Regions from separate parts of the Homo sapiens genome. Here region 2 is linked to region 1. The links are contacts of gene promoters, found by promoter capture Hi-C in blood cells and fetal thymus (Javierre and others, 2016). All regions are on one chromosome and are shown on one strand. The core of a region is centred on a gene start or on the middle of the fragment in contact, and the rest is flanking DNA. Distances in the headings are between cores, read along the strand shown. Region 1 holds the start of TTLL3 (tubulin tyrosine ligase like 3). Region 2 holds the start of CIDEC (cell death inducing DFFA like effector c).

The links. The method cuts DNA at HindIII sites, captures the fragments that hold promoters and counts their contacts. A CHiCAGO score of 5 or more calls a contact.
Region 2: a contact is called between the fragment with the promoter of CIDEC here and the fragment with the promoter of TTLL3 in region 1, in 9 of 17 cell types (erythroblasts, naive B cells, naive CD4 T cells and 6 more). The highest score is 9.3, in erythroblasts.

Annotation. Positions count from the first base shown.
Region 1 is chr3:9,808,871-9,811,845 of GRCh38, reverse strand. TTLL3 (tubulin tyrosine ligase like 3) reads right to left here and starts at 1,584. Exons shown (of 14, transcript NM_001387446.1): 1 at 1,452-1,584; 2 at 1,137-1,225. The coding sequence starts at 1,184. The region is part of intron 4 of ARPC4-TTLL3 (ARPC4-TTLL3 readthrough); the gene reads right to left. RefSeq lists a silencer at 1,403-1,882 and an enhancer at 2,363-2,512. The HindIII fragment of the contact is 3,571 bases long and covers 226-2,975 here.
Region 2 is chr3:9,878,751-9,881,775 of GRCh38, reverse strand. CIDEC (cell death inducing DFFA like effector c) reads left to right here and starts at 1,523. Exons shown (of 7, transcript NM_001321142.2): 1 at 1,523-1,552; 2 at 2,722-2,834. The HindIII fragment of the contact is 5,760 bases long and covers 1,366-3,025 here.

The sequences.
Region 1 (2,975 bases), core at 335-2,834:
CAGGCAGAGGGGAATGCATGTGCAAAGGCCTTGAGGCTGGAGAGAGGTCAGAAGGAACTGAAGGGAGACCAGAGTGAGTGGAACATGGAAAATGATGGGGAAAGCCCCAGAGGAGGTAGGCAGTGGCCAGACTGTGGAAGGCCCTGCAGGCCTTGGAACGGACTTGGATTTCATACTAAGAGTGTCATGAGCAAAAAAGGCTAACTGAGGGAATCTTTCTAAGCTTGGCTTGCTGCTGTATTACAAAAAGATGAGGGGACAGGATGGAGGTAGACCAGCTAGGAGGCTGTCATAGTTTGCCTAGGAGAGAAATCACAATTACTAAAATGAAGGTGGTTACAACACAGACGGGAGAAGGTGCTAGAGTTGAGAATCGTTTTGGAGGTGGAGATGACAAGTGGTTTTGCTGATGGAATTAGACCTGTGGGTGAAGAAACAGAAAGATGAGATTTCTGGCGTGAGGAACTGAGAGATGGGAAAGACTGGAGACTGGGGAGGACGACAGGTTTGGGCAGGAAGATCAAAGTCTGGTTTGGGACATGAATTTGAAATGCTTGTTAAGTTTTCTGGGTGTAGATGACAGGTAGGGGCTAGATCTACGGGATGTGGAGTTCGAGGCTGGGCTGGAAGGGGCACGGAGAGGGTGCAGCACACTGACTGGACTCAGCCAAGGACACAGCCAAAGGAGACAGACCTGGGGAAGGGGCCAGGGGGCCACTAATGGCTGAGGAACCTTTAAAGGCCGCTGAAAAGCAGCAGCCAAAGAGGGAGAAAGGAAAACTAGGAGCGTGCAGTCAGACAGCCAAGAGGAAGGGTGTGTGGGGCAGCGGTGTCGAAAGATACAGGGTGCCCAACCGAGATCAAGACCGAAAGGCACTGCTGGGTTTGGCTCCCTGGAACTCACCAGGCACCTTGATTAGAGTGGGACATCGCAGGGAACCAGAGTGGAGGGAGCCCAGAAGTTTGGTGCTGAAGGGGTAAACGGGGAGGTAGTTGAAGATGGGTGTGGTGGTTGAGGATTTTTGCTATTGTTTTTTCTTTTGCTTTTGTTTTTTAAGGATATAAGAAAACAGCGCAGGGAGACAGGCTGAGCCGCTCCCAGGGCCCTTTCTAAGCGCCCCTGCCCCTCCTCTGACCTTGACAGCTCTCTCCACGTAGATTTTGGCGTTTCTGAGCCGGTTCATGTGAGACGCCTTGGAGGATCCTCGCCAGAGGACCGGGAAACCTGCAGAAAGATGCGGAATAGGGGCGGGGTACACTGAGGCTGGGCCTAGGGTCTCGGCCTAGGATCTTTTCTGGCCGCCCATAGCCACGCCTCTTTTCTTCCTCCTGCCTTCATCCAGATGCCCACCCTCAGCCGCTCTTCTCCCGACCCCCAGTCCCTCCACCCCAGCGTCTTGTCGTCCTCGCAGCCGCTGTAGGCCAGAGCGAGCGGGCCGCACGGGCCTCACCATCCTGCGGAGAGGGGTCGAGGACCGGGGTGTGCGGGGGGCCGAGGGGGTGGGTATCCGAGGCGCCCTGGGCGTGGGTGCCTGGGACCAGCGTCTTGAAGGCGCCGCTGAGGCGGCGCGCAGGGGCGGGGCTGCCCGCCTGGCATCTGCCGCCTGCGTGACCCTCCTCGGACTGGGCGGAGGCAGGGCCGGCCCATGGCAGCCTCCTGGGTGGACGGAACTCGGAGCGGCGCGCCGAGGGGAAACTGGTGCGTGGCTCGAGCGGCTGCGGCTTCCGCAGCCAGTTGCACACCGCGCCGCCCTCCTGGCGGTACCAGGAGGCCGAGCCCCGGCGCCCGGGCCCCAGCTCCCTCGCGCTCAGGAGCAGTGGCGCGTCGGGGCCCTGCATGCGCCCCTCGCCGCGCTCGCCCTCCCAGGGCCCCTGATCCCGCGCCCCTCCGCGTCGCCGCCTCCTCTCCCGGGAAGTTCCTGCCTAGGCTCGAGCCTTGTCCTCCGTTCCAAGCCCCGCCCCGTTTGCTATTGCCTTGGAAACCATTCCCTGGGCACCATCAGACCGCTCGGGGCTGGTTGGGGGCTGCGATGGGCCCCGGGGCAGTCGAGCGAGGGCTTCCTTATGACCTGGGGCCTCACCCAGACCCTTGATGAGCAGGGCACTGAAGGCGGAAGAGAGCACTGAGCCCCAGTTAGTTAGTGTTGCGGTTCCTTATCCAGTACTTCCTGGTGCCACCGGCCCTAGGGTTTGAGTGATTCCACAGTATTTATAGGCGCTAACAAATGGCCCCTGACCTCATGGAGCTTACTAAAAGCCCAGTGTGAGGGGAATAAAAAGCAAGTAACAAAGGAAGAGAATAGTTTACAGGTATAATAAGGGCAATGAACAAGCAGAGGTGAAACCAGGAAGGGGGCGCATTTTAGATAAAGTGGCGCATTTAAGCTGAAGGTGTAAATGCCAGGAGTCAGGAGTCACCAGGGAAAGGGGAGGAACTGCACTTCAGGGAAGGGACAGTCCCAGCAACAGCCCTGAGAAGGGTAAGAACCTCTGTGCGAACTACAAGACAGCCAGGGTGGCTGGAGCCTGGTGAGGCCAGATCAGACCTGCTGGGCCTGGCAGATGGGCCTAGGGTAAGGTCCTTAGCGAGGGCAGCATATGGGGGTAACAAGAAGGTGCAGAGCACACCCTCCCCAGAAACTGGAAATGGAAAAACAATCATTTGAGTCAACTGCGAAAGAAATGTAATAGTTCACAACAGTTATGCCTGGCCCCCAGGCTAAGACTGTAAGCAACCTTTTTGGAAGCACTGGCAAAATATTATCCTCAAAAGTCACAGGGGAGGTAAGGCTCCAAGATGTTAAACAATTTGCCTCAAATCACAGAGCAGAGGCAGCACTGGAACCCAGGTCTGACTCCAAAGCCTGTCTCTTAAACACCTGTTATCACTCAGGTTGCCTGCCAGTCACAGAAGGACCACACAGGGACAGTTTGAGAGGCAAACTCTAGCAGTGCCCCCGCAGGCAGAGTCGAAG
Region 2 (3,025 bases), core at 274-2,773, 70 kb before region 1:
GTTTGGTTTTGGTTTTGTTTCTTTTCTTTTGTAAAGACAGGGTCTCCCTATGTTACTCAGGCTAAATTTTAATTCCTGGGCTCAAGTGATCCTCCTGCATCAGCCTCCTTCTGAGCAGCTGGGACAACAGGTGTGCTCTGTATGACACACATACACCACACGCACACACACAGAAGTGGAACTGCTGGGTCAGAGATCTTACACTCTTAACCACTCCACATTTCAGCTTGTCTTACTCTCTGCTATGATTTAATATGTACATTATCAAATTGAGAAAAAGACAAAAAAATTAAAAATAATAAAATAAAAATAAAAAATTATCAGTAATACTAATAATCACTTCGATCCATTGAGTGTTTATGTTTGCAAAGCCTTTATTTTTATTTATTTTTATTTTTTTGAGACAGAGTCTCACTCTGTCACCCAGGCTGGAGTGCAGTGGCGTGATCTCGGCTCACTGCAACCTCTGCCTCCCGGGTTCAAATGATTCTCCTGCCTCAGCCTCCTGAGTAGCTGGGATTTCAGGCACCCACCACCACGCACGGCTAATTTTTGTATATTTAGTAGAGATGGGGTTTTCGCCATATTGACCAAGCTGGTCTCGAACTCTTGACCTTGTGATCTGCCCACCTCGGCCTCCCAAAGTTCTGGGATTAGAGGTGTGAGCCACCGTGCCCGGACTTTTTTTTTTTTTTTTTTTTTTTTGAGACAGGGTCTCACTCTGTCACCCAGAATGGAGTGCAGTGGTGTGATCTAAGCTCACCGCAACCTCTGCCTCCCAGGCTCAAGCGATTCTCCTGCCTCAGCCTCCCAGATAGCTGGGATTACAGGCACACACCACCACGCCTGGCTCATTTTTCTATTTTTAGTAGAGACGGGGCTTCACCATGTTGGCCATGCTGGTCTCAAACTCCTGACCTCAAGTGATCCACCTGCCTCGGCCTCCCAAAGTGCTGGGATTACAGGCGTGAGCCACGGCACCCAGGCTACTTTTTTCTTTTTTCTTTTCTTTTCTTTTTTTTTTTTTTTTTCAGAGACAGGGTCTCACTCTATTGCCCAGGCTGTCCTCCAACCCCTGTCCTCAAGCAATCCTCCCGCCTCAGCCTCCCAAAACACTGGGATTATAGGCATGAGCCACTGTGCCCCTTTACTTTTATTGTCACTAATCCTCACCACTACCCTATAAAACAAGAATCATTATCGTCATTACACAGAGAAGAGAAACGGGCTCACAGAAGTCAAGTGATCTGTCTAAGCTCAAGCAAGCTGATATGGGGTGGAGTTGGGACCACAACCCACATCTGCCTGCTTTCTGTGCCCTCTGTGCTTGATCTCATGTCATGGGCCATCCATTTTGCCAAAGCTTTCGAAACATGCCTTCTCCCCTCCTTTTAGGCCTTTTCTGGAAGTCAGGCTGGCTTGCAGCTCTCACCCCAAGCTCTTTTCCCCAGCTGGGGCTGAAGGCTGGGGAGGAGCTTCATGGGGGCTGGAAATAAATGAAGGGAGGGCTGGGCGGGACAGGGCAGTATTTCCAGGAGGCTGTGAGGGGGAGGTAAGGAGTTTGTTATTGTTTTGGGTTTGGGGATTTTTTTTTCTTTGCTCCTGGAGAGCAGGTTAGGTAGCTCTTGGCAGAGTTTTGCTAGGGATACGAAGTGGGTGAGGCTGAGGCAAGCAGAATCCTCCTGCCTCAGCCTCCCACGTAGCTAGGACTAGAGCTTCTGCAGTGCTAAGTGGGAAAGGGGCTTTCTGCCTCTGTGGGGCCTGGTCTGGAAAGTCCCCCAAATTGTTAAAAGCAAAGAGTGATTGTCCCCAGCTGGCAAGGGGACTTTTGTTTTATGTCCACCCCTTGTGCCCCTTGCTCTGCGAAGCCCTACCTGTGCCGGGAGCTTCGAATAGGAAGAGGACCTCAGGGCCAGGCATCCAGGGACTGAGGGGCTACAGCAGAAACAGACCCAGAGGCACCCTTGGCTAGGAAGAGCAGGATGAAGGTGTAATAATTTTGGGAGTGGTCTAAGAAGACTTTCCTTTTAAAGAGTGGAAAGCAATGAAACTGAGGCTTCAAGGCTGCAAAAATTTCGTCCTGGATCAGAGAAGGGCACTACAGGTGGAGGGAACTATCTGTGCAAAGGGTTGGGCCCTTCAAGAGTTGGAGCACAGAGGTTTAGGAGAAAAAGTGGTGACAGATGAGCCCAGGGCTATCTGCTTAGACCTGTGATCTAATATGGGTGCCAACAGCCACATGGCAATGTGGCTATTTAAATTTAAATTAGTTAAAATTCAATAAAGTAAAAAATACAGCTCCTGTGCCAGGTGCAGTGGCTCACGCCTGTAATCCCCGCACTTTGGGAGGCCAAGACAGGGAGATCACCTGAGGTCAGGAGTTCAAGACCAGCCTAGCCAACATGGTGAAACCCAGTCTCTACTAAAAATCCAAACAAAACGAAACTAAACTAAAAATTAGCTGGGCGTGGTGGCAGGTGCCTGTAATCCCAGCTACGGGGGAGGCTGAGGCAGGATAATTGCTTGAACCCAGGAGGCGGAGGTTGTAGTGAGCAAGATCGCCCCATTGCACTCCAGCCTGGGTGACAAGAGCGAAACTCAAAAAAAAAAAAAATTCAGCTCCTGAATCACACTAGTTATGTTTCAAATACTCAATAGCCACATGGGGCTAGTAGCAATGGTATTGGAGAGTATGTACAAGGCATGCCTCTATCATCACAGAATGTTCTTTTGGCCACTGTGAAGCCTCAGGAAGGGGCTCGGATTGCTCAAGGACCCATGGGAGAGAGGAGGCTTTGACTGGGCTGCCTGCCTGTGAGGTCTCTGGACTAGAGGTGAGGGAACGGTCCCCAGAAGTGTGAGGTGGTGTGACTCACCTCCTGCCAGCGTAAAGTGGACTCTGTCCCCATGGACAGGAACAAATCGGGCAAGGCTTCTTCAGCCCTGAGTTGGGTTATCTGCTCAGTGTGACCAGAGCCAGGGGATGAGAAACATGGAGTGAGTGGGACTGGGGCAGGAGCAGCAG